7 separate regions of the Homo sapiens genome follow, and regions 1, 2, 3, 5, 6 and 7 are each linked to region 4. The links are contacts of gene promoters, found by promoter capture Hi-C in blood cells and fetal thymus (Javierre and others, 2016). All regions are on one chromosome and are shown on one strand. Each heading gives the region's core, a stretch centred on a gene start or on the middle of the fragment in contact. The rest is flanking DNA. Distances are from core to core; before and after follow the strand shown.

Region 1 (3,532 bases), core at 10-2,509, 340 kb after region 4:
AACCCACTTTCTAAAATGAAAATGTGAAGATCTCAGTCCCCATGAATTCCCTTCAATGCTGTCCTCCACTCTCAGGACAAAATCAATGTGTCTTCACCAGGTGTGGTGGCTCACACCTGTGATCCCAGCAATTTAGGAGGCTGAGGCAGGAGGATTGATTGAGATCAGGAGTTTGAGACCAGCCTGGCCAACATGGGGAAACTCTGTCTCTACTAAAATTAAAAAATATATATATATAAATATATATATATATTCAGGTGCAGTGGTGCAATCCTATAGTCCTGGCTACTCAGGAGGCTGAGGCAGGAGGATCCCTTGGGCCCAGGAGTTCGAAGCAGCAGTGAACTATGCACCCACTGCACTCCAGCCTGGGTGGCAGAGCAAGACCCTGTTTCTGAAATTAAAAAAAAAAATTGATGTACATTAGGGGGGCTTCCACGGCCTGAGGCCTGCTTCCCCTTGCTTTCCTCCCAGTGGCCCTGACCTTGTCTCTTACAACTTCCCACCCTGACTGTCTGGTTCCCATTGCTGATTTCACACACAGACCCTCCTGTCCCCTGCCTCATCCATGTCTGGCTGCTCTGTCATCTCCCAACTTTGGTTGCTTTCAATGCTCAGCTCAAGCACCACCTCTTTCAGGAAGCCTTCTCAGAAAGCCACACCTTCACAACCCGGGTGAGGCACCCTGTGGTCTCTGTGCTTCCCCCTCACAGCAATGAACTTGCTGTTTATACATCTGCCTCTCCACTGACCCCAGGGCTGGTGCTTTGTGGTTTATATTTTCTTCCCCACCTAGCAGAGGGCTTGCATCTCCAGGCTCAAATTAGGCTTCTTGAATAAATGATGAATAAATGAGTGAATGAATGAATGAACAAATACTCGCTCTGTGCTCCTCCTAGGGACCCGGATGCCCCACTCCTTGGCCCAGACTTTCCAGGTCAGAGTGGAGGGCTCCCACCAGGGTTTCCTTTAGGGTCCTGAGGGGTTGGCATCTGCCCAAACCCCCTCCAGTCTGGCTGAAATTTCAAGGTCAAGGGGTGCCTTCTGGCAGTCAAGGGTGAGCCTGGGAGGGGCAGGGCAGGGATTTGCATCCATCTAAGCAAAGGGCATCAAGCCAAGTCATCTGATGAGAGTGACTCCGGTTGGGGGGTGGGGGCGTGTGGGAGGCCGAGCCTGTCCTCGGATCAGTTGCGTACTCTGCCCGCCCCCTCTGACTCATGCTGACAATCTTCTTCCTTCCCCTGGCCACCTCTCTGCCCACTTGCTTCCTCAGTACCTTGGTCCAGCTCTTCCTGCAACGGCCCAGGAGCTCAGAGCTCCACATCTGACCTTCTAGTCATGACCAGGACCAGGGCAGCACTCCTCCTGTTCACAGGTGAGCCTGGACCCCAATGAAGTAGGGCTGGGGACCCAGGCCCAAGGGAGCCAGGGCCCTGAACTGGGGGCTCAGGCTGGGGGGTTAGGATCTGGGTAGGAAGAGAGACTCAGTCAAGCCTGAGGGGGAGGCAGGCACATAGGGTCTGAGATTTGGAGTTTGTGGAGGGAGAGGATATTGATGAACCAATTTTGGGAGAGTTCCAGAGATGCTGGAAGAGAGGCCAGTTGTCTCTGTACTGCAGAGATTTTTAAAATAGGCAGAATGCGCCAACTTGTGCTCTGTGGACAGGATGCTTTGGTCCGCAAGTTTTCCTGGACTCACTCTCATAGCGCCCGAGGTGCACGTTGGGGAAAGATCCTTTTTAGAGCCTGGGTACTGCTCTGCAGAAATGGAGAACTGCAACTCGATAGTGGATGGTGGGCAAGGGGCATCCCTGGACCCTGGGAAGGAGAGAAGGGGATGAGTTGGGTGTCCAGAAGACCCAGGCACCCCGGGCATCAGGCTCGGAGGGGAGATTGGGACGCTGGGGCCGGGGGTGGAGGGCAGCCAGGCAGAAGGAAGACCCTTCTCCAAAGCTCTCTTCCCACCTCTTTCCCAGCCTTAGCAACTTCTCTAGGTTTCAACTTGGACACAGAGGAGCTGACAGCCTTCCGTGTGGACAGCGCTGGGTTTGGAGACAGCGTGGTCCAGTATGCCAACTCCTGGTGAGGCCCAGGTGGTGCTGGCCTTTGGCTCCATCCATCCTCTCCCTGCTCAGGGCCCCATGCCCCCGGCCCTGCCCTGTTATTTGCAAACTCTCCTCTCTGTCTGGTGTAGCGACTGCCCTGGCTAATGAAGATTTGCCTTGAAGGCAGGCACGGTCTCACAGCTAACATTTACAGAGCAGTAAGTGCAGTGCCAGGCTCATCACAGGTGGATGCTGATTTAGTCCACACGACAGCCTGTGAGTAGGAATCAGTCGTGCAACAAACACTTATTTGTTTTTTCTTTCTTTTTTTCTATACATTTAAAAATATATAGAGACAGGGTCTCACTATGTTGCCTGGGTTGGTCTCAAACTCCTGGGCTCAAGCAATCCTCCCGCCTCAGCCTCCCAAAGTGCTGGGATTCCAGGTGTGAGCCACCACACCCAGACTCAACAAATATTTCTTGTCTCCATACGCCAGAGAATCCAACAGACAGAAATCCCTTCCACATGGACTTTAAATTATTAAAATCCATCTTGCAGATGAGGAAGCTGAGGCTCAGGGAGGGAACGCAAACTTGCCGGAGTGGCAGCTGTGCTGCAGCGTCCACACTCTTACCTAAAGTGTTCTTTGTCTCCTCGCAGGGTGGTGGTTGGAGCCCCCCAAAAGATAACAGCTGCCAACCAAACGGGTGGCCTCTACCAGTGTGGCTACAGCACTGGTGCCTGTGAGCCCATCGGCCTGCAGGGTGAGTCACCGCCCCTCCCGGGACCCAGGGCCGGGCTCCCAGGCTTCCCTGCTCCAGGGGCCCGTGGACTCACCGGAGTGTCACTTTCAGCTTCCACTGTGTCTGAGACCCTCACCCTCAGATATGCTTCCTGGCCCCTTAAGGCCTCCCCGCCCATCGCACTCCCGCAGCTCTGTCAAGACCCGACAGCTTCCTTCACCGTCAGACCTCCTTGTCTCCCAGGTGGAGGTGACCCCTGCCCAGCTCTTCCACAGCCTTCTCTGTACCCCCGAGAGTGACCATGCACATATCTGTCCCCACAGTGCCCCCGGAGGCCGTGAACATGTCCCTGGGCCTGTCCCTGGCGTCTACCACCAGCCCTTCCCAGCTGCTGGTGAGTGGCCCTGGGTCACAGGAGGCTTCTGAGGGAGGGAGGGAGGAGCCGGGGCCGCGGGGGGCTGGGAGTCTCCTGTAGGGTGGAGGTTCCGGAATGTGAGGGTGGGAGGAAGCAGGGGCAGCCCCCCAGCAGCCCGCTGTGTCCCCAGGCCTGCGGCCCCACCGTGCACCACGAGTGCGGGAGGAACATGTACCTCACCGGACTCTGCTTCCTCCTGGGCCCCACCCAGCTCACCCAGAGGCTCCCGGTGTCCAGGCAGGGTGAGTGTCGGGACCACCAAGGCTTTGAGGAGCTCACGCACATCCAATTGGGGGTGCGGTGGGCTAGAGACAGTCTTGCCAGAG
Region 2 (3,791 bases), core at 222-2,721, 390 kb after region 4:
GTCATCGGTAAAGGTTTCCTCCAGGGGCAGGAGGTGTCCCAGTGGGCAACAGTTCCCCTCTGCCTAGCGTGATTCCTGGGAAGGGACTCAGCTCAGAGCCAACTCCACGTAGCTGGAAATAAGGACCTCTGACCGACTGGGGGTAGGGTGGGGTCTGGGGTGGATCCCTGCCCCACCCCCACAGCATCCCTACAGGCATATCCTACAGGCCTCGAAGGTGCCTGGCACGTGGTGAGAATGGTGCCAGCGGCTGACCCTGGCAGAGGGCCAGGACTTGTCTCCAGCACCCATGTGCGTGTTGCTTTATCCTTGCAGTGATCCCACGTGGTAGCCACTGATATTACCTTCATTTTACAGATAGGGACACTGAAGTCCAGAGAAGTTAAGTAATGTGCCTGAATTCACCAATTAGCACGTGGCTGAGCTGGGGTTTAGCCCAGGCACACTGGCTCCAGAACACGCGCCCTGAACCACTTTGCTAAACATTCGCCCTTGATGCTTGTGGCACCCCTAGCATCTGTGTTTAATGAATATTTGTTGATTAAATGGATGAGGAGCCCACCTGGGTCCTGTGTTGTCATCCCTCTCTTTCCAGGCCATGTGGGAGGAAGGGAGCAGGGGGCTGGGGTGGCAGACTGGGGCCTCCTCCAAGGAGGGGTCGGAAACTAGGTGGGGATGCCAAGAACAGCCCCCGGGCTCTGTTGAGCAGGAGCTGCAGGAGGGGGTTGGGCCCCCGCAGTGCATCTCCGATTCCTCCCCATTCCCCCACAGAGTGTCCACATCAAGAGATGGACATCGTCTTCCTGATTGACGGCTCTGGAAGCATTGACCAAAATGACTTTAACCAGATGAAGGGCTTTGTCCAAGCTGTCATGGGCCAGTTTGAGGGCACTGACACCCTGGTGAAGACTGGGCACCTGGGGCTGGGGTTTGGGGGACGGGGGAGGCTGGCCTCGGGGAGGCATCCCGGGAGGGGTGGGGGCAGGCCAGTGAGCCGTGTGTGATGGGGCTGGGGTGGAGAATGAAGCTATGGTCCCAGCACAGGCCCAACTTGAGCCCTGACCTAGGAGGCCCTCTTGGCATTTAATAATGTATCCAAAAGCTACAGGAAATACAATGTTTCTGCTGTTTAAAAACATTGAAAGTGTTTAAAAAATAATTTTGCTATGGAATTTGACTGACATATTTTCTATGTAACTAATGATTTCTTTTTATTATTTTATTTTCCCATAACTAGTGCCTATGTATGTGCAAAAAAACCCCACTGTTTTGTTTTTTAAACAGGGTCTTGTTCTGTCATCCAGGCTGCAGTGTGGGGGTGCAATCATAGCTCACTGCAGACTTGATCTCCCAGGCTCAAGTGATCCTCTTTCCTCAGCCTCCTGAGTAGATGGGACTACAGGTGCATGCCACCATGCCTGGCTAATTTTTAAAAATTTTTATTGTAGAGATGGGGTCTTGTTATATTGCCCAACCTGGTCTCCAACTCCTGGCTCAAACAACCCTCCCACCTTGGCCTCTCAAAGTGCTGGGATTACAGGCATGAGTCACTACGCCCAGCCACAAATTCTTGAGAAGGGAGGAAATACACAAATTGATTTAATGTGTGATAAAATTTTTAAAAAGCTAAGGGTAGCAAATATTGTGGTTGGCAAAGTTATTTTTAATAAACTGTGAAGGAAATATCATTTGGTTTAGATTTTCCAGTTTATATTTTGTATTTTTGGGCCAATGAATTTTCTTCTCTGGGTTTCAGTATATTATTTGTAGGGCTTCAAAACACATGGGAAATGGTTTGTAAATCCAAAATAATTCCAAAATAAAGTTTATTAAAACTGAAAACAATATGGCTTGGTGTGGTGGCTCACACCTGTAATCCCAGCACTTTGGGAGGCTGAGGTGGGAGTATTGCTTGAGGCCAAGAGTTCGAGACCAGCCTGGGCAACATAGTGAGACCTTGTCTCTACCAAAAACAAAACAAAACAAAAAACAAAGCCAGGCATGTGACGTGTGCCTGTAGTTCCAGCTACTTGGAGGCTGAGGCAGGAGGATCACTTGAGGCCAGGAGTTTGAGAGACCCTGTCTCTACAAAAAATTAAAATAAAAACAATAGTAACAGGCACTGAGCCCTGGGCCCTCCCCACTGGCCTTTGCAGTTTGCACTGATGCAGTACTCAAACCTCCTGAAGATCCACTTCACCTTCACCCAATTCCGGACCAGCCCGAGCCAGCAGAGCCTGGTGGATCCCATCGTCCAACTGAAAGGCCTGACGTTCACGGCCACGGGCATCCTGACAGTGGTGTAAGCAACCCCGACCCCAGCCTGGCGATGTGACTGCCACCCCCACTTCCTAACCCTGGGTCAGCACAGCTCTTCTCAGAGGCTGAGGGAGGCTCCAGGGAAAGGGGCTACCAAGGGGCATGTCGGGGCTGCAGGGAGAACCTCCCCCCGGGGTGCTCCTGGTTGCCTCGCTGCCAGTCTCCCTGATATAGGACTAGGCTCCTCTGCAGCTATGCCTCCCCTTTGCCTGGTTCTGCAGAGCCTGGACCCCAGGACCCCTCCCCACCCCACAGCAGCCAGAGGCCCGGGCTTTGGCTCAGACACATCAGGCTCCCATCCTGGCTCCCCGTGAGCTACTCTGGGTGTAACCCTGGGGTGATGGGCTCTAAGTCTCAGTAACTCTCAGATGAAGATAAGCTCACAGCTTAGGATTGAGATCATGTGTGTGGGGTGCTCAGCCCGGGGCACGTAGGAGGTGTCGGATAAATGCCTGAGGTTTTATCAGAGAATGGAGTAGTCAGGGACTCAGGAATTGTCACCCAAGGTCGTCCTGGTGCCTTTCTCCCCACTCACCTCCTCTCCCGCATCCCTCACCCCTGCGCACCCCCTGTGCTACCCAGGCACTCACCGTGGGCCTGCCCCGTGCACATGCAGTCTATTCCTAAAACGATGTAGGAGGTGGGACCCCCGAGAAAGGCATGTGGTTCTTGTAGGAAGGAGCTGGGCTGACGGTCGGGGATCCTTGGCTTCCTGCACACACCCCTGGGAGCAGCCCTGGGGTGGTGCTAGAATTTGGCTTAAACAAGAGATGCTCCCACCAAACGCACCCTCTTTACTTCTGGGAGGCTCTTCTGCCTTGAACGGTGGCCCCTTGTGACTCAGCAACCCAGAGGAAGGCCTCCGTCTGTCCTGTAAGTTTAAAGTCACACGGGAGTGTCCCATTCTGGAGTCTCCACCTCACCCCTCAAAGTTCTTCCAGTGGTGGGGCCTGGGGAAAAAAATGAATGAGGCAGGGGTGACCGAGTGGTTCTCACCAACTCCAGTCCTGCTCTCATGCCCAGACTGCAGGAAATTTCCCAGCAGCCTTTGCTCCCCAGAGCCAAGCCCATCTCAGGGCTGGACTCAGCCAAGGATTGGACCTCCCTGCTGCCGGTCCTTCCCTTCCCTCCCTCCCTTCCTTTCTCCCTCCCTCCCTCTTTCCCTCCTTCCTTTCTTCCCTTCCTCTCTTCCTCCCTTTCTCCCTTCCCTCCCTTCCCTCCCTCACTTCATTTCTTCTCTCACTCTGTTTTGTATTTTAGACAGAGTCTTGCTCTGTTGCTCAGGCTGGAGTGCAATGGCACAATCTTGGCTTACTGCCACCTCCATCTTCTGGGTTCCTGGATTCTCCTGCCTCAGTTTCCCAAGTAGCTGGGATTACAAGTGCACACCACCATGCCCGGCTGATTTTTGTATTCCAAGTTCAAGCAATTCTCCTGCCTCAACCTCTGAGTAGCTGGGACTACAGGCCCGC
Region 3 (3,989 bases), core at 827-3,326, 280 kb after region 4:
CATGCATGTCTTCTTTCGAAAAGTGTCTGTTCATTTCCTTTTCCCACCTTTTAATGGCGTTGTTTTTCTCTTGTAAATTTGTTTAAGTACCCTGTAGATGTTGGATATTACACCTTTGTTGGATGCATAGTTTGTGAATATTTTCTCTCATTCTTTAGGTTGTCTGTTCACTCTGTTGATAGTTTCTTTTGCTCTTGCATTTAATTAGATGCCATTTGTCAATTTTTGCTTTTGTTGAGATTGCTTTTTGTGTCTTTGTCAGGAAATCTTTGCTTATTCCTGTGTCTAGAATGGTATTGCCTAGGTTGTCTTCCAGGGTTCTTATAGTTTTGGGTTTTACATTTAAGTCTTTAGTCTATCTTGAGTTGATTTTTGTATATGGTGTAAGGAAGGGGTCCAGTTTCAATCTTCTGCATATGGCTAGCCAGTTATCCTAGCACCATTTGTTGAATAGGAATTCTTTTCCCCATTGCTTATTTTTGTCTTAGATCAGATGGTCATAGGTGTATGGCCTTATTTCTGGGCTCTCTATTCTGTTCCATTGGTCTATGTGCCTGTTTTTGTACCAGTATCATGCTGTTTTGGTTACTGTAGCCCTGTAGTATAGTTTGAAGTCAGGTAATGTGATGCCTCCTTCTGTGTTCTTTTTGCTTAGGATTGACTTGGTTATTCAGGTTCTTTTTTGATTCCATATGAATTTTAAAATAGTTTTTCCTAGTTCTGTGAAGAATGTCATTGGTAGCTTAATAGTAATAGCACTGAATCTATAAATTGCTTTGGGAAGTGTGTCCATTTTAATGATATTGATTCTTCCTATCCATGAGCATGAGATGTTTTACCATTTTTTTGGTGTCATCTCTGATTTCTTTGAACAGTGTTTTACAATTCTCACTGTACAGATCTTTCAACTCTCTGGTTAGCTGTATTCCTAGTTATTTTATTCTTTTTGTGGCAATCGTGAATAGGATTGCCTTCCTGATTTGGCTCCCAGCTCTTGTTGGTGTATAGGAGTGCTAGTGATTTTTGTACATTGATTTCGTATCCTGAAACTTTGTTGAAGTTATTTATCAGCTGAAGGAGCTCCTAGGCCAAGACTATGGGGTTTTCTAAATATAGAATCATGTTGTCTGCAAACAGGGATAGTTTGACTTTTTTACTTCCTTTCTTCCTATTTGTATGCCCTTTTTTCTTTCTTTTGCCTGATTGCTCTGGCTAGAACTTCCAATAATATGTTGAATAGGACTAGTGAGCAAAGGCATCCTTGTTTTGTGCTGGCTTTCAAGGGGAATGCTTTTGCCCATCAAGTATGATGTTGGCTGTGGGTTTGTTGTAGATGGCTCTTATTATTTTGAGGTATGTTCCTTCAATACCTAGTTTATTGAGAATTTTTAACATAAAGGGGTGTTGACTTTTATTAAAGCCTTCTCTTCATCTATTGAGATAATCATGTGGTTTTTGTCTTTAGTTCTGTTTATGTGATGAATCATATTTATTGATTTGCATATGTTGAACCAACTTTGCACCCCGGGAATGAAGCCTACCTGATCATGGTGGATTAGATTTTTGATGTGCTGCTGGATTTGGTTTGCAGGTAGTGTGTTGAGGATTTTTGCATTAGTGTTCATCAAGAATATTGGCCTGAAATTTTCTTTTTTTGTTAAGCTGACACTTTTTAGTTTGATGCCACCCCATTTGTCTGGTTTGCTTTTGTTGCCTGTGCTTTTGGGGTCATATCCAAAAAATCATTTCTCAGAAGCTTGATTGTCAAGAAGCTTTTCCCTTTGTTTTCTTCTAGTAGTTTTACAGTTTCAGGTCTTGTGTTTAAGTCTTTAATCCATTTTGAGTTGATTTTGTATATGGTTTGGGATAAAGGTCTAATTTAATCCTTTTGAATATGAATATCCAGTTCTCCCCACACCATTTGTTGAAGAGAATGTCCTTTCTCCTTTGCATATTCTTGGCACCTTTATTGAAGATCAATTGACCATAAATGCATAGTTTTATTTCTAGCCTCCCTGTTCTGTTCCATTGGTTGATGTGTCTGTTTTTATGCCACCACCTTGCTGTTATGCTTACTAGAGCTTTCTTGACACAGTATGTTTTGAGATCAGGAATTATGATGCCTCCAGTATTTTTTTTCTTGAGGATTGCTTTGGCTATTTAGGGTCTTCTGTGGTTCTACATAAATTTTAGTTTTTTTTCTATTTTTGTAAAAAAATGCCATTGGGATTTTGATAAGGATTGTACTGAATCAGAAGATTGCATTAATACTCCAGTCCATGAACATAGGATATCTTTCCATTTATTTTTGTCTTGTTTAACTTCCTTAATCAATGTTTTATAGTTTTAGTGTACATGTTTTTCACCTCTCTGGTTAAATTTAAGCTTAGGTATTTTTTTTGATGCTATTGTAAATGAGATTGTTTCTTGATTTCTTTTTCAGATAGTTCATTGTTAGTGTATAGAAGCACTATTGATTTTTCACATTGATTTTGTAACCTGTAACTTTACTGAATTTATTCATTAGTTCTAGTAGTTCTTTTTTGGTGGAGTTTTTAGGGTTTTTTAAAAATATATTTATATATATATGTTTTTATATATATATCATTTTAAGTGTAAACAGAGACAAATTTCCTTTTTTATATCTGATTTGGGTCTCTTTCATTTATTTTTCTTGCCTAATTGCTGTGACCAGGACTTCCAGTACTATGTTACATAGAAGTAGTGAGAGTGAGCATTCTTGCCTTTTTCCTCATTTTAGTGGTAAAGCTTTCAATTTTTCACCATTGAGTATGATGTTTGTTGTGGGCTTGTCGTATATGGCCTTTATCATATTGAGGTACATTCCTTCTGTAGCGAATTTATTGAGAGTTTTTATTATAAAAGAATGTTGAATTTTGTCAAATGCTTTTTTTTGCGTATATTGAGATGATCATGTGGTTTTAGTCCTTCATTCTGTTAATGTGATATGCCACATTAATTGATTTGCATATGTGGAATCATCCTTGCATCTCGCATCCCAGGGATAAATCACACTTGATCATGGTTATTATCTTTTTATCTTTTTTTTTTTTTTTTTTAACAGAGTCTCTCTGTGTTGCCCAGGCTGGAGTGCAGTGGCGTTATCTCGGCTCACTGCAAGCTCCACCTCCCAGGTTCACGCCATTCTCCTGCCTCAGCCTCTTGAGTAGCTGGGACTATAGGCGCCCGCCACCATGCCCTGCTAATTTTTTTTTTTTTGTATTTTTAGTAGAGATGGGGTTTCACCATGATTTCCAGGTTGGTCTCGAACTCCTGACCTCAGGTGATCCACACGCCCTGGCCTCCCAAAATGCTGGGATTACAGGCATGAGCCACTGCATCTGGCCGGTTATATGACTTTATATGTTTGTCAAAACTCATAAAACTATGTACTAAAAGGCTGAATTTTATTGTATGTAAACTCTTCCCCAATAAATCTGACCTAAAAAACAATCAAATTCTGTTGACTTTAGGATAAAGTATTCAGTTATCAATGAGTCTTCCCTCAATGGTGTATGAGGCAGAAATCACGTTGCAGAGCCGTGGCATGATGTCCCCTGCACATTCCCTTTCTAGAACTTGTCCCAGTTTGAAATTGCTATACACATCTCCCTGTTAATCCATTGATTACTCTCCTCTCCTCCACCTGGCTGCACTGAGGGCCCTGGAAGGCACTGTATCTCTATTACCCAGCTGTGTGCTTAGCAATAAGAAACACTTGTTTGTTGAATGAATGAATAAATGAATGAATGAATGTATGATTAAATAGGTGAATTTTATGGATGAATTCTACATATTGACCTTGAAGATATTTCTTAATATCACAACAAATATTCAAATAACAAATAGTTATTTTTAATCTAAGCCAGTTATTAGCCTTATTAGTCAGAGTGCCAACTTTGACTTTTTACCTCCCTAAAGATTCCCAATATATTGAAAGGGTGGTATTCTGTCTTCTCTTCTAGAAT
Region 4 (3,564 bases), core at 140-2,639:
GAAACCCAGATTGCAGTCTGCCCCCCACCCACTTGCTTGGTGACCTTGGACAAGTCCCTTCCCACGCCTGAATCTCAGTTTCCTCATCTGTCAAGTGGGGTAATAACCCCTGGGGTAACAACCCACCAGTTCCCTGTAAAGGCTCAGTGCATTGGGCAGCTCAGCCGGGGCCGGTACCCTTATTAACATAACACCACCAGCCCAGCACAGTGCGGACTGTCAGTGCTGCCTCCTCGGGCCCCAGGTCATTTCTCCAAATACCCCAGCGTCCTCCCTGCCCCTGAAACCATTCTCATCGAACCCCACTCCCCAGTTCCTCCAGGTAGCAGCCTCCACTGCAGTCCTTCCCCTGTCCCCCCAAAACCAGGGACTGCCTGGCCAGACTCTTGGAGCCGGGCCTCTTCAGGCCTGCAGACCTGGGGCCTGCATCAGCCCTTGACTGCCCGGGGTGCCCCAGTTCCCCCAAGCAGAGCACGGCCCGTGTTCCATGGCCCTCTCCTCTGCATCCCCATCTCCCACCTCTGGGTCACCCTGTCTCAGGCCCTGGCCCTCTGGCTCTCTCCGGAGGCCACCTCTTCCCTCCCTGTCTCGGAGAGATGCCCCCTCCCTATAGGGAGTGACACACGCGTGTGCACACACACACACACTTCATTCACTGCCAGGTGCTGGCATCTCAGTCCCAACCTGTGTCCTTCCCCGTAGCATCCCCTGAATCTGGGTCCTGCTAGACTCTCAGCCTGGCCCAGTCACCGCCCCCATGCTTCTCTTTGGCAAACCTGCCCAGGGGATGACAGTCTCCTCCGGTTTCTCCTGATATCCACTCTCTCCCATCCCCAGACCAGACCCCGGGGCCCTCCTGGGAATGCGGGGTGTTCGAGGCCCCTGAGACCTCTCCTGCCCCCTTGTGTCTTCATGGCCTCCAACCCCTTCCAGGCACTGTCCCCAAAATGCAGGTTCACTGGAGAGACATCAGGCGCCTGAAGATACTGGGGTGCTCCGGCTACCAACCTCCGATCTCATCCTTCGCCCCCACGTCCCAGCACCTCCCCCACTCCATCCCCACGCGCTCCCCCAATATTGGGGTCCCGCCCCCCCATTCTCCCCACCCCCAAGCTCACACTCCGCAGCTCTTGAGTCCGATCCTTCATCCTGCGACGGCTCCTCCTCCTCCTCCTAGTCCTCCTGCCTCTGCTGCTGCTCCGGGTCTCCCGCCTCTGTGCCGGAGGCCGGGGTCTGGGGGCGCCGGGGGGCGCCGCGGCCGCTGCGGGGGGCCTGCGGGCGGGGGCGGGGCCGGGGGCGACTGGCCGAGGGCCGGGCAGGGGCAGGGGCCTGGGCCGGGCTCGGCTCTGCCGGGCTGCGGTGGCGATGCGGCTGCGGCACAGGGTAGGATGGAGGGATGCGGGAGCCGAGCGCGGGGGAGGGGGGCGGAGGGAGGTGAGGAGGAAGCGAGGGCGGGGGGAGCGGGAGCGCGCAAGGAGCAGGGGGCATGCGCAGCACCCGGGCCGGGGGCGCCTGGGGGTTGTAGTCACGGGCTTGGGGGACACCCGAGGAGGGGGCGGGAGAGGCCTGGAGGCGGGTGGGGGTGGGCAGAGCCCGAGGAGCAGGGAGAGATGCGGAGAGCCAAGCGGAGATGCTAGGGTGGCCCGGGGGGTGGGGTGGCCCGGCGGAAAGAGGGGGTGACGGAATGAATTCAGGGAATAACCTGGGAGCCAGGATGTGGATCCCTTTCCAGGAGACACAGATCGCGGCTGTGTTTTGTGTCTGGTGTCTGCGTGAGGCTGCGCGCCGACCACCTCTGGGTGCGAGCCCATGTGTGTTCTTGCAGGAGGCTCTTTGGACACTATAAATAGAAAGACCGACCCTCTGTGTGGTTTTTACGATGCAGGGAACCAGCCAGGTGCTTGCTGAGAAGGACACGGGGCTTGTGTTGCACAGCCTGGGCCTCTCCCGCCGCGGTGGGTCTCGGAGCTCTGCTTGTCTGCCTCCAGGGACAGGGTGCTCACTACCTCCCAGGACCTCTTGGCCCATCTGCAGATGGCTCTGACTGTTGAACATGAAATTTGTCCTTAGTGGGAGGGGAAATCAGGTGCCCCTGAGGGTCTGAGTGACCTCCTGTTCTGATGCCCACCTCTCCTCTCCCCATCCTTACACCACACCAGCTCCTCCCACCCCCTGCAATGGGGCGCCGGTCCCCAATGGGACAGGTCTTGACTCTCAATCGATCCTCCTGCCTCAGCCTCCCAAAGTGCTGGGATTCCATGCCTGGGCCACCGCACCCGGCATTCTCTTGCCAGGTACCCAGTGACCTCCTTGGTGCCAAATCTGTGTCTGATAAACCCTCATCCCACACCGCCAGTCGGGCCTTACCATCCCTGACCTCTCAGCAGCATGTGACCCTGATGAGCCCCTCTTCCTGAAACCCTCCTGTCTGTGGTGCTCCGCCCACCTACCCCCCAACCTGATCTGTGAGTGTTGTCTCCCAGCCTCTTTCCAGGTCCTTACCTTTTTTCCCACAGCCCTTCAACCTCAGGGTTCCCTGGGCTCCGTCCATTCTCTCTTTTTTTTTTTTTTTGAGTTAGGGTCTCATTCTGTTGCCCAGGCTAGAGTACAGTGGTGCAATCTCGGCTCACTGCAGCCTCAACGTCCCAGGCTCAAGTGATCCTCCCACCTCAGCCTCCTGAGTAGCTGGGACTACAGGCACGCGCCACCACACCTGGCTAATTTTATTTTTTGTAGAGACAGGGTCTCACTATGTTGTCCAGGCTGGTTTTGAACTCCTAGGGTCAAGCGATCCTCCTGCCTCAGCCTCCCAAAGTGCTGAGATTACAGGCCTGGGCCACCATGCCTGGCATTCTCTTCCTTCTTTACCTGCATCTTTCTGCACCTCCGTGTCTGCAGTGCCCACATCTGTACCTGCGAGCCAGATCCTCCCCCTGTAAGACAGCCCCTACTATATGCCTAAGCTCTGAGCTGGGCACCAAGAAGACAGAGATTGAAGATGCCACCAGAGCCATGAGTAGATCCATGACTACAGTGGGCATGGCTAGCGCTGACGTGGGGACCTCAAGGAGGTGGCTGTCCCCAAAGTGTTCCTTCCTGTGTTCTCCCTCAGAGATGGCGTCATCTCCATCCACCCAGCCACTCAAAGCACAGAAAGCTGTCCTTGCCTCCCCGCCATTATAATGCCAGCACGTTCTGGGCATCCAACGTGTTGCATTCACTATGCTGGTAGCTCCCAGAAACCTCCCAACCTCACAGTAGCCACTGCTAAGATCCCAAGTGTATAGACAAGGACACTGAGGCTTTGCATGGTCACATAACATATCCAAGTTCACAAGGTTAATAAAGGGCAGGGCTGGGGTCTTGTTTGCTTTTTTTTTTTTTTTTCCAGAGACAGGGTCTCACTCTGTTCCCCAGGCTGGAGTGCAGTGGTGCAATCACACCTCACAGCAGCCTTGACCTCCTGGGCTCAAGCAATCCTCCCATCTCAGCCTCCTGAGTAGCTGGGACTACAGGTGTACACCACTGTGTCCAGCTAATTTTCTTTCTTTCTTTCTTTCTTTT
Region 5 (3,972 bases), core at 236-2,735, 440 kb after region 4:
CCTAATCCTATCAGGTTCTGCCATGCCAAGCCAGGCCACCTTCTCGTGTGGACACCCTCCCCCACCTGCTGGAGCTCTGATACATGCTCTGGCCTGCTGCGTCTCACTCCCCACACCCGGCAGAGGCCTCTTTGGCTCTGCCTGCCCCTAGAGGCTGTAAGACAGCATTGTTCAGGAAAGGGAGGAAAGGGAATGGGTGTAGGAAAGGAAGAGCGGATCTCCTTTGAAGAATTATCTTTAAAAAAAATTATTTTTTTAGAGACAGGGTCTCACTCTGTTGCCCAGGCTGGGGTGCAGTGGCACAATCCTAGCTCACTGCAGTCTCAAATTCCTGGGCTCAAGCGGTCCTCCTGCCTCAGCCTCCTGAATAGCTGGGACTACAGTGAACATCACCACACCTGGCTGGTTTTTTAATTTTTTCTAGAGATGGGGTTTGCTATGTTGCCCAGGCTAGTCTCGAACTCCTGGGCTCAAAGCATCCTCTCACCTCAGCCTCTCAAAGTGCTGGGATTATAGGTGTGAGCCACCGCCTTTTTTTTTTTTTCTGATTTACTATAATATTTCTAGTAAGCCATTGGCTTAGAAACCAGATTCACTAATTAATTCATTTACCCTTTCATGATACAAAATTTTTTAACTGAGTGAGGCCTTTCCTGAGAATTGAGCACATGAGCTTTGGTGCATGGACCTGGAAATCTCTGCTTCTTGAACTCCTAGGGGCTTCCTTTACTTCATTCACTCCTGGTGCTCAGCAAATTTCTGAATGGGGGAGGTTGGCCAGCCTGGGAGAGGTCACCCACGCCAGGAAGTCTCAGTACCTCTCTATTTATCCTATCACTTGGGAATCCTCTAGGATCTGTTTCAGGGAGTCTCTGGTTAGCCCTGAGACATAAGTGGTGCGGGTGAGACTCCTGGGGCCTATCTCAGAGGTCCTCACACCCCTGAGATTAAATCAGTCAGGAGGCAGGGTGGAGAGAGGAGTGTCCTATCAGGTCTGAGGAGGTTGTCAACTTCCTGGACTTCTTGCTAAGGACTCCTCTTCCCACCCTTCATGGGTAGCTGAGGTCAGGGAATCTGTAGGGACAAGACTTTCTTTTAAATGCTAATCTGCTGACTAACCCTGAGTCTGGGAATGCCTCCAAAATGTCAAGCTGATGTGTTTTTTTATTTTTTGGTTTTGTTTTTTTTGTTTTTTTTTTGAAACGGAGTCTCACTCTTTCATCCAAACTGGGGTGCAGTGGCACGATCTTGGCTCACTGAAACCTCCACCTCCTGGGTTCAAGCAATTTTCCTGCCTCAACCTCCCAAGTAGCTGGGATTACAGGCACGTGCCACCATGCCTGGCTAATTTTTATATTTTTGGTAGAGACAGGGTTTCACCACGTTGGGCAGCCTGGTCTCGAACTCCTGACCTCAGGTGATCTGCCCACCTCGGCCTCCCAAAGCGCTGGGAATACAGGCGTGAGCCACCGTACCAAGACATCCCACAGCACCAGCCTGTGTGTGTCTCGCCAGGCTCAGAGCTGGGAACCTGGAACCCAGGACTGGGTGAGCTCAGAGACATAACTGTGACTGTACTGGAGTCAGTCTTATGCCCAGAGCTAAGCAGAAGCAGGGCCAGCCCAGAGGAGACGATGTTACCGACTCCCACCCCGTCCTGTCTAGCGCTTAGAGTACCTCTGTACTGGCTTGCTTCCTACAGTTGCTCTGGGAGGAATGTGTGCCAGAGACCCTGACCTCTGACCCAGGCATGCAAGGGTCTGCCTTGCCTAGTTGAGCCTGTGCACTCTGTCTCTGCCTCCCTTCAGATAGGGAAAGGAGCTTCAAATTACGGGGTGATGTCATAGCACGGAGTGGAGATGGGGTGGCAGGGAGACAGGGAGGCTCAGGGAAGGAGGCCAGGTATTTCACAGAGGAGTTCTGGGGGAGAAGAAGGAAAACGGCAGAGAAGGGAACAGGAAGGGGTGAAGGAAAGGGGAAAAGTGCCTTCACTGCATGGAAAGGTCCTTCTCACCCACAGTGGGGTGGGATGGAGACTGTAACCTCAAGTACTTTTCTGCAGGGGACAGGCAAGTAACACATATGAAACGTGCTGAGTCAGGGATGCAAGAGGGAGTGTCCCTGTTCCTATGTCCAGGACAGCCACTACTCAACGAACTGCTGCCATAAAAATCCAATGTTGCAGCATCTTCTGATATAAATAATAAAGCAGGCCGGGTGTGGTGACTGACGCCTGTAATCCTACCACTTTCGGAAGCCGAGGTGGGTGGGGGAGGGAAGGGCCGGGGCAGGGGATCTTTTCTTTTTTTTTTTGAAACGGAGTCTTGCTCTGTCACCCAGGCTGGATTGCAGTGACAGGATCTCCGCCCACTGCAAGCTCTGCCTCCTGGGTTCATGCCATTCTCTTGCCTCAGCCTCTTGAGTAGCTGGAACTATAGGCGCCTGCCACCATTTCCAGCTAATTTTTTGTATTTTTAGTAGAGACAGGATTTCACCTTGTTAGCCAGGAAGGTCTCGATCTCCTGACCTCGTGATCCGCCCACCTAGGCCTCCCAAAGTGCTGGGATTACAGGCGTGAGCCACCGTGCCCGGCCAGGAGGGGATCATTTGAGCCTAGGAGTTCAAGACCAGTCTGCAACCTGGCAAGATCCTGTCTCAATTAAAAAAAAAAAAAAACAAAAAAAACAACAACAAACCAAGCCCCAGAAATCGACTGTGATGTGAAATCTCCTTATTTAAATGTTGGCTCTTTAAAAAAATAAAAAGACCAGGTTAGGTGGCTCACATCTGTAATCCCAGCATTTTGGGAGGCTGAGACCAGAGGAACACTTGAACTCAGGAGTTCAAGACCAGCCTGGGCAACACAGTGAGACCCCGTCTCTACAAAACATTTTTTAAAAATCAAAAAATTAGCCAGGTGTGGTGGTGTATGCCTGTAGTCCCAGCTCCTTGGGAGGTTAAGGTGGGAGGATCACTTGAGCCCAGGAGGTTGAGGCTACAGTGAGCCACAATTGCACCACTGCACTCCAGCCTGGATGACAGAGTGAGATTCTGTCTCAAAAATAAATAAATAAATAAATAAATAAATAAATGGGCATGGTAGCTCACACCTGTAATTCCAGCATTTTGGGAGGCTGAGGCAGGGGGATTGCTTGAGCCTGGAAGTTTCAGAGACCAGCCTGGGCAACAAAATGGAACTCAAAAAGTAAAAATCTTGGCTTGTTTGAAAACACACACACACACACACACACACACACACACACACACACACAGCCAAAACAAATGTGTTTCCCATCTCGGGCTTGGGCACTGGGTCACAAGCTTGGACAGTGAAGCTACTTCTAAACCCAGCACAGGGTACAGTGGATGCAGGACATGGGATAAACTCCTGTTAGATTAAGCCCGTCCCTCTGCTTCTGAGGTCTGGCCTGCCTCGCTGTTCTGGTCAGAACCTGTTTTATGCAATTGGAGAGGAGAGGGGTCCCAGGAGTATTAGCCCTAATGTGAGAAATTAGATTACAGGTCTCTGAAAGGGATTCTGCAAACCAATCCTCCTTCCAAGCCTACTCTACCCATACCTAATATTCTTAAGCAGTTATGAATTTTGCAGAGGTCTACAACACTTGACACTCACTCAAGGCAACTGTGAGGAAACTGAGGCTTAAAGGCCACTAGTAAGCAGTGTAAAAAGGACCTGATCATGACAATTATTCTTTGAGTGCCTACCATGCATGTGCTGGGCTCAGGCCCTTCACTCAAACCCTGGCTCGTACTCTCTGAAGGGTCCTGGGTGAGGAAGATGTCAAGAACCCCATACCTCATCACTGACTCCCTGCCGGGGGCATGTGCTGCTCCCAGCCTGAGATGAGTGCTGTTCATTACACGTCATCTCCATGAAGCCTCCCGCATTTGCTCCAGGAAAGGCCCGTTCGCCACCCTGGCGTCATTCACTCTGTGTTGCTGATATTGAGT
Region 6 (3,668 bases), core at 244-2,743, 320 kb after region 4:
CTGGGGTTCTGGGGGACATGAGGAGGGGTTCCCCACTTGATTCAGGGGTGCACACGGTGTGAATGGGGAACCCCCAGAAATCCAGAGTCGTCTCCCCTGACGCCCCTCCTTCCTCCCCCAGACGGAGACCAAAGTGGAGCCGTTCGAGGTCCCCAACCCCCTGCCGCTCATCGTGGGCAGCTCTGTCGGGGGACTGCTGCTCCTGGCCCTCATCACCGCCGCGCTGTACAAGGTGCTCCCCGCTGCTCCCCCACCCCCTCCCTTCATCCTCTCGGGCCTCGCGCTGCAGCTCCGTGCCTCGGTTTCCCCGGCGGGGCTGCCAGCTGTGTGACTGGGGCGAGTCTGGGAGCCTCTCTGCGCCTCAGTCTCTTAGGGAGGGTGGCCGGGTTCATGCGCGGGGCGCGCTGAGAACGAGTCGCCCTCCTTGTAGTTTCTGTTTTTCTCCAGGCCCCGACGCGGATGTCACTCCCCTCCCGCCCCGCCCTCCTGGGTCCCTTCTGTCTCTGCCGGCCCTCCCGCCCCCTCCCCCTGGTCTGCGGAGCCGCACGCTCCCTGGCTGCTGTCGCTCTCACTGCCCTCCTCTGCCCCGCAGCTCGGCTTCTTCAAGCGGCAATACAAGGACATGATGAGTGAAGGGGGTCCCCCGGGGGCCGAACCCCAGTAGCGGCTCCTTCCCGACAGAGCTGCCTCTCGGTGGCCAGCAGGACTCTGCCCAGACCACACGTAGCCCCCAGGCTGCTGGACACGTCGGACAGCGAAGTATCCCCGACAGGACGGGCTTGGGCTTCCATTTGTGTGTGTGCAAGTGTGTATGTGCGTGTGTGCAAGTGTCTGTGTGCAAGTGTGTGCACATGTGTGCGTGTGCGTGCATGTGCACTTGCACGCCCATGTGTGAGTGTGTGCAAGTATGTGAGTGTGTCCAAGTGTGTGTGCGTGTGTCCATGTGTGTGCAAGTGTGTGCATGTGTGCGAGTGTGTGCATGTGTGTGCTCAGGGGCGTGTGGCTCACGTGTGTGACTCAGATGTCTCTGGCGTGTGGGTAGGTGACGGCAGCGTAGCCTCTCCGGCAGAAGGGAACTGCCTGGGCTCCCTTGTGCGTGGGTGAAGCCGCTGCTGGGTTTTCCTCCGGGAGAGGGGACGGTCAATCCTGTGGGTGAAGACAGAGGGAAACACAGCAGCTTCTCTCCACTGAAAGAAGTGGGACTTCCCGTCGCCTGCGAGCCTGCGGCCTGCTGGAGCCTGCGCAGCTTGGATGGAGACTCCATGAGAAGCCGTGGGTGGAACCAGGAACCTCCTCCACACCAGCGCTGATGCCCAATAAAGATGCCCACTGAGGAATGATGAAGCTTCCTTTCTGGATTCATTTATTATTTCAATGTGACTTTAATTTTTTGGATGGATAAGCTTGTCTATGGTACAAAAATCACAAGGCATTCAAGTGTACAGTGAAAAGTCTCCCTTTCCAGATATTCAAGTCACCTCCTTAAAGGTAGTCAAGATTGTGTTTTGAGGTTTCCTTCAGACAGATTCCAGGCGATGTGCAAGTGTATGCACGTGTGCACACACACCACACATACACACACACAAGCTTTTTTACACAAATGGTAGCATACTTTATATTGGTCTGTATCTTGCTTTTTTTCACCAATATTTCTCAGACATCGGTTCATATTAAGACATAAATTACTTTTTCATTCTTTTATACCGCTGCATAGTATTCCATTGTGTGAGTGTACCATAATGTATTTAACCAGTCTTCTTTTGATATACTATTTTCATTCTCTTGTTATTGCATCAATGCTGAGTTAATAAATCAAATATATGTCATTTTTGCATATATGTAAGGATAATTTATAGGATATGTTCCTGGAAGTTTGGGTTCTCCCAGAAGCAAACCCAAGAATTTGGGTGAAACAAGCGTATTTAAGAGGTGGCAGGCCAGGCATGGTGGCTCACACCTGAAATCCCAGCATTTTGGGAGGTGAAGGTGTGAAGATTGCTTGAGCTCAGGAGTTCGAGACTAGCCTGGGCAACATAGTGAGAACCTGTGTCCACGAAAAATTAAAAAAATTTAGCCAGGCCTGGTGTTACATGCCTGTAGTCACAGCTACTCCGGAGGCTGATGCAGGAGGATTACTTGAGCCCAGAAGGTCTAGACTGCAGTGAGCCATGATCGCACCACTGCACTCCAGCCTGGGTGACAGAGTGAGATCCTGTCTCAAAAATAAACAAAATAATAAAATAAAGGTCGGGCACAGTGGCTCACGCCTCTGTAATCCCAGAACTTTGGGAGGCCGAGGCTGGTGGATCACCTGATCTCAGGAGTTTGAGACCAGCCTGTCGAACTTGGTGAAACCCCGTCTCTACTAAAAATACAAAAAAATTAGCCATGCATGGTGGCAGGCAACTGTAATCTCAGCTACTTGGGAGGCTGAGGAAGGAGAATTGCTTTAACCTGGGAGGTAGAGGTTGCAGTGAGATATGATTGCATCACTGCACTCCAGCCTGGGCGACAGAGCAGGACTCCATCTTAAAAAAAAAAAAATAAATAAAATAAAATAAAATAAAGAGATGGCTCCAGGAAATACCGAGGAAGGGAAGGCTGCCAATAACAGGTGTATCACCCACAGAGAAGCTGCTGTGAGTTCCTGGAGCTTCACCCCACTGGGCAGTTCTCGGAGGCAGTGCAGAACACGCACCTCAGTATCACCCCACCCAGGGGAGAAGGCTGGAGCGCATAGACACCGATTCCACTTAGCTATTGGATGAGGGCTGCTCTTGGTGGGGAGAGTGTGTTAATTTCCTACCACTTCTGGCCTGCCCTGAGTGTGAGGAGAGTGGGCTCTAGTGGCCAGAGAAAGTGATACCAGTGCTGCTGGCTGGATGTTTGACAGGTGAACACAGCCCCTGACACGGTGCCTTTGGTTCAGGTCAGGGCACCAGGAGCACTTGCTGCCAAGGTGTGTGCAGGTGACATTTTGGTGGCTGCTTCCTCAGAGGGAGGATGCCCAGTGCCTGTCCCTCATACTTTGCAAACACAGTAAACACTAGCCTGGCCTGAACATACATCCTCTCTAATCCTCACACCAGTCCTTGGTATTTACATGAATTTCACTTATGAGGAAACCTAGGCTTAGATAGATCATACCAGTTGCCTGAGGTCATACAGCTGGGAAGGAATGGAGCTAGGAGTTAATCCCAGCTCTGCCTAGGTCTAAAGCTTTTCTCTTTTACTGTCCTGACAGCCTCAGAGGAATGGCCCCAGAACAGGCATGAGGGAGTGTGGGGAGAGGGTGGCTGTTATTTAACTGTTATGATATTGGGTTAAAGCATATGAAATTGATGACATGTTTTTGGACAAAAATGTTTCTTTCTTTTCTTTCTTTCTTTCTCTTTCTCTCTTTTCTTTCTCTCTCTCTTTCTTTCTCCTTCTTTCTTTCTTTCTCCTTCTTTCTTTCTTTCCCTTCCTTCCTTCCTTCCTTTCCTTCCTTCCTTCCTTCCTTCCTTCCTTCCTCCTTCCTTCCTTCCTTCCTTCCTCCTTCCTTCCTTCCTTCCTTCCTTTCTTTTTTCTTTCTTTCTTTCCTTCCTTCCTTCCTTCCTTCCTTCCTTCCTTCCTTCCTTCCTTCCTTCTTTCTTTCTTTCTTTCTTTCTTTCTTTCTTTCTTTCTTT
Region 7 (3,947 bases), core at 557-3,056, 370 kb after region 4:
ATGTCAGCATCAGCTCAGGGCTTCATCGTGGGGCTCTCAGTTCCGATTTCCCAGGCTGAATTGGGAGTGAGATGCCTGCATGCTGGGTTCTGCACAGCTGGCCTCCCGCGTTGGGCAACATTGCTGGCTGGAAGGGAGGAGCGCCCTCTAGGGAGGGACATGGCCCCGGTGCGGCTGCAGCTCACCCAGCCCCAGGGGCAGAAGAGACCCAACCACTTCTATTTTTTGAGGCTATGAATATAGTACCTGAAAAAATGCCAAGACATGATTATTTTTTTAAAAAGCGTACTTTAAATGTTTGTGTTAATAAATTAAAACATGCACAAAAAGATGCATCTACCGCTCTTGGGAAATATGTCAAAGGTCTAAAAATAAAAAAGCCTTCTGTGGATATGAGTCCTGAAGGATGACACCCATGGGGTCCCTTTACCACGGTGGACCCTGGCCAGCACTGAGGCCTGGGGCCAGGACAAGAAGTTAACCAGAGTAGGGTTGTGAATATCCCTCTCTTGGAAGTAACCTGACCTCTTAATCTGCTCACTCCACTCTCAGGGCTGGTGCCGATGGTAAGCTGGTGGAGCTGTCGGGTGGAGGGGGCATAGAATAGAGAAGGGACAACCTCCAGTGGCTACTTTTCCACCTGGAAAGGTCTCTGGAGTGACCAATACTCACAAGCGTTTCCTACAAGTCCTAGGATGTGTTGAAGGGCACACTGTCTGCATATAGTGAGTGATTGAAGAACATGTTGGGGTCCCACATTGAGAGCTGCTGCCCACAATAAGGTCATTCTTGCTATTATGCCACCATCCTGGCATAAAGTTCATCATGGTGCTTGGCACTGAGCTGGGGGCCTCACAGGACAAGCCATTCCTGACCTCGGAGTGACGCCACTGCAGCTATCACCAGCAAGGGACCCGGGCCGTGTGGATGTTTCAATTAGAAAAACAGAAGGGAGGCAGTTGAGTGATTTGAAGGGAAGATGGAAAGTGGCCCTTTACCTCCAGCCAAAAATGTCTGTCCTATACATCAGCAGAGGCTCCAAAATCCCTGTGGATTTTGAAGCTTTTGAGTCCCCAGGATGACTAATTATTATGCAGTTTCCTCAGAAAGGGAATCAGAAGATAAGGCTTTGTAAGAATTCAGCCCTAATGGCTGGGCACAGTGGCTCATGCCTGTAATCCCAGCACTTTGGGAGGCCGAGGCAGGAGGATTGTTTGTGCTCAGAAATTTGAGACCACCCTGGGTAATATATTGAAACCTTGTGTCTACAAAAAAATTTAAAAATTACCCAGGCATGGTGGCATGTGCTTGTAGTCCCAGCTACTTGGTAGGCTGAAGCAGGAGGATCACTTGAGCCTGGGAGGTTGAGGATACAGTGAGCTGTGATTTGGACCACCACACTCCAGCCTGGGCAACAGAGAAAGATCATGTCTCAGAAAAAAAAAAAAAAATTGACCCTAGAGTGGTGTTTCTCAAAATGTGTTCCACGAACCACTGGTGGTCAATGATGGTCTTCTAAGTGGAAGGTTTTAGAGAAAAAGAGCAAGAAACCCATACATCTCAAACATTTGAAACTAGTGATTTGCACAGAAATAGTGTTGTGGCCTTAATAATTGTGTGGCACACGGACTCCAGGGACTACAGTGGGTTCTTGTCTAAATTCAGGCAACAAGTTGTTATTTTCTATTTTATTTTATTATTATTATTTTTTGAGATAGTCTCACTTTGTCTCCCGGGCTGGAGTGTAGTGGCACGATCTCGGCTCAACGCAACCTCTGTCTCCTGGGTTCAAGTGATGCCTCTGCCTCAGCCTCCCAAGTAGCTGGGAGTACAGGGGCGTACCACCATGCCCATTTTTATTTATTTATTTTTGAGACAGAGTCTCGCTCTGTCACCCAGGCTGGAGTGCAGTGGCATGATCTTGGCTCACTGCAACCTCCGCCTCCCAGGTTCAAGTTCAAGCGATTCTCCTGCCTCAGCCTCTGGAGTAGCTGGGATTACAGGCAGGCACCACCATTTCCAGCTAATTTTTGTATTTTTAGTATAGATGGGGTTTCACCATGTTGACTAGGCTGGTCTCGAACTCCTGACCTCATGATCCGCCCTCCTCGGCCTCCGAAAGTGCTGGGATTAGAGGTATGAGCCACTGTACTTGGCCGACAAGGTGTTATTTTCTGATATTCTTCCTTTGTGTGTTATTGTGTACATTTATTACATTTGCATTTTCAGGGTTGGCTATTGTGTTGCATTAGATCCCCGAATCACAAAATGGATCAATGGCTCAAAAGCATGGAAGTTGTGATTAAAAACTAATCTAATTGCTACAATTTACAATAATGTCATCAAAGTCAATATTGACTTTTAAATATTGAGCCCAGTGCACGTATAGTATAGACATGCATACCGGAATAAGTGATTGTGAGCCAAAACCCGAAAATATCTAGAAGGTATTATACTCCCTGACAGGTAGGTTGTATTGGTTCTGACATGTATTTGTCCCTAGTGTGCTGCCCATTCTGAAACTTTATCAAACAGTCGCATGAACCTCTGAAAGCTTTTGTGTTATTTTCTTATTTATTTATTTATTGAGATGGAGTCTTGCTCTGTCGCCCAGGCTGGAGTGCAGTGGCATCATCTTGGCTCACTGCAACCTTTGCCTCCTGGGTTCAAGTGATTCTCCTGCCTCAGCCTCTTGAGTAGCTGGGATTACAGGCGCGCACCACCACGCCCAGCTAATTTTTGTATTTTTAGTATAGACGGGGGTTTCACCATGTTGGTCAGGCTGGTCTCGAACCCCTGACCTCATGATCTGCCTGCCTCAGGTAAAGCAATAGAGATTTCTTAGAACAACTGCTACATGTAGCTTTCCTATTCAAAAGTGATTAGTGTTGTCACCGAATACAGAGGAGACAGCAAAACCACAGTGACATAAATCAAAGGTGCTTTTTAAAGTAGCAAAAGTAGGTACAAGTCACATAATTTCCAAGAAGCTTGTAGAAATGGCAGTAGAGTTCATACCTGTATTGAAAGGTTGCTTTTGGCTGCAAATAATAGAAAAAAACAAAAGCATGTAAGAGCAGACAGAAGACCTTTACTCTGCAAGAGGTTCAGGTGCAGGTTAGTGTTTAATGCAGAGTCTCAGCATTGACAGATTCTTTCTGATCTTCCAATTGATCGTCCTTGCGGGGGCGGTTTAGTTCTTTCCCACTGACTAGGATTGGGTCAAATTCCATCCCCTTGGTTGCATGCAGTGCTGAGAAGGTGAGCATGTGCTTTTCACAGGCTTAATAAAAAGAGGTAGCTCCAGCCAGGTGCAGTGACTCATGCCTATAATCTCAGCACTTTGGGAGGCAGAGGTGGGTAGGTCACCTGAGGTCAGGAGATTGAGACCAGCCTGACCAACATGGCAAAACTCTGTCTCTACCGAAAATACAAAAATTAGCTGGGCATGGTGGCAGGTGCCTGTAATCCCAGCTACTTGGGAGGCTGAGGCAGGAGAATCGCTTGAACCTGAGAGGTGGAAGTTACAGTGAGCTGAGGTCATGCCACTGCACTCCAGCCTGGGGGACAGAGTAGAACTCTGTCTCAACAAAAAAAAAAAAAAAAAGAGAAAAAAAAAGGAGGGTAGCTCCACCAGCCAGGAAGGTGGCAGCGCTGGTGGCTGTTGGATAGGCTACCTACAGTGTCTGGCAAATACTATGCTTGAAGACTATGCTGTGAGCAAGATTCCTTTGTGAAGGAACAGCTTGGACATTGTGTATGTCAGAGGTATACAGCAGAATAGCAGTGACTAACGCTTGTGTGGGAGAGCAAGCATGTCACCTCATACTTGGAATAAGTCACTGCCATACAAAGTCTGAATCAGCTTTCATCTTTGTGCAACACATGTATGTGGGAGCTTTTCAGCTGCTGAAACCTCTAGTGACAGAAAAGGAGGTTTTGTTGTT

What was found. Contacts are between HindIII fragments. The CHiCAGO score rates a contact against its expected background, and 5 or more counts as called.
Region 1: the fragment with the promoter of ITGAX here is called in contact with the fragment with the promoter of STX1B in region 4 in 1 of 17 cell types (monocytes); the score reaches 8.8 in monocytes.
Region 2: a contact is called between a fragment that was not itself captured here and the fragment with the promoter of STX1B in region 4, in 3 of 17 cell types (monocytes, M0 macrophages and neutrophils). The highest score is 7.2, in monocytes.
Region 3: a fragment that was not itself captured here is called in contact with the fragment with the promoter of STX1B in region 4 in 3 of 17 cell types (neutrophils, naive B cells and total B cells); the score reaches 6.8 in neutrophils.
Region 5: a contact is called between a fragment that was not itself captured here and the fragment with the promoter of STX1B in region 4, in 15 of 17 cell types (naive CD4 T cells, neutrophils, monocytes and 12 more). The highest score is 10.3, in naive CD4 T cells.
Region 6: a fragment that was not itself captured here is called in contact with the fragment with the promoter of STX1B in region 4 in 10 of 17 cell types (naive B cells, naive CD8 T cells, total CD4 T cells and 7 more); the score reaches 8.6 in naive B cells.
Region 7: a fragment that was not itself captured here is called in contact with the fragment with the promoter of STX1B in region 4 in 2 of 17 cell types (monocytes and total B cells); the score reaches 6.4 in monocytes.

What each region holds. Positions count from the first base shown.
Region 1 is chr16:31,353,917-31,357,448 of GRCh38, forward strand. ITGAX (integrin subunit alpha X) reads left to right here and starts at 1,260. Exons shown (of 30, transcript NM_000887.5): 1 at 1,260-1,375; 2 at 1,977-2,082; 3 at 2,709-2,812; 4 at 3,115-3,185; 5 at 3,337-3,448. The coding sequence starts at 1,339. RefSeq lists enhancers at 522-651, 842-1,031. The HindIII fragment of the contact is 18,983 bases long and covers 1-3,532 here.
Region 2 is chr16:31,401,344-31,405,134 of GRCh38, forward strand. ITGAD (integrin subunit alpha D) reads left to right here. Exons shown (of 30, transcript NM_005353.3): 6 at 772-902; 7 at 2,157-2,302. Among named protein-coding and RNA genes, the nearest start is that of ITGAD, 9.9 kb to the left of the region's middle. The HindIII fragment of the contact is 7,259 bases long and covers 1-3,791 here.
Region 3 is chr16:31,293,045-31,297,033 of GRCh38, forward strand. The region is part of intron 12 of ITGAM (integrin subunit alpha M); the gene reads left to right. Among named protein-coding and RNA genes, the nearest start is that of ITGAM, 35 kb to the left of the region's middle. The HindIII fragment of the contact is 613 bases long and covers 1,771-2,383 here.
Region 4 is chr16:31,009,249-31,012,812 of GRCh38, forward strand. It overlaps STX1B (syntaxin 1B), which reads right to left and starts at 1,390. Exons shown (of 10, transcript NM_052874.5): 1 at 1,119-1,390. The coding sequence starts at 1,148. RefSeq lists an enhancer at 1,426-1,927. The HindIII fragment of the contact is 27,284 bases long and covers 1-3,564 here.
Region 5 is chr16:31,451,814-31,455,785 of GRCh38, forward strand. No RefSeq gene overlaps it. Among named protein-coding and RNA genes, the nearest start is that of ARMC5, 5.7 kb to the right of the region's middle. RefSeq lists enhancers at 1-289, 870-1,642, 1,643-2,414. The HindIII fragment of the contact is 3,667 bases long and covers 1-3,319 here.
Region 6 is chr16:31,331,044-31,334,711 of GRCh38, forward strand. It overlaps ITGAM (integrin subunit alpha M), which reads left to right. Exons shown (of 30, transcript NM_000632.4): 29 at 122-232; 30 at 593-1,834. The coding sequence ends at 664. Among named protein-coding and RNA genes, the nearest start is that of ITGAX, 22 kb to the right of the region's middle. RefSeq lists a silencer at 435-514. The HindIII fragment of the contact is 184 bases long and covers 1,402-1,585 here.
Region 7 is chr16:31,382,609-31,386,555 of GRCh38, forward strand. ITGAX (integrin subunit alpha X) reads left to right here. Exons shown (of 30, transcript NM_000887.5): 30 at 1-391. Among named protein-coding and RNA genes, the nearest start is that of ITGAD, 8.8 kb to the right of the region's middle. RefSeq lists an enhancer at 1-500. The HindIII fragment of the contact is 1,492 bases long and covers 1,061-2,552 here.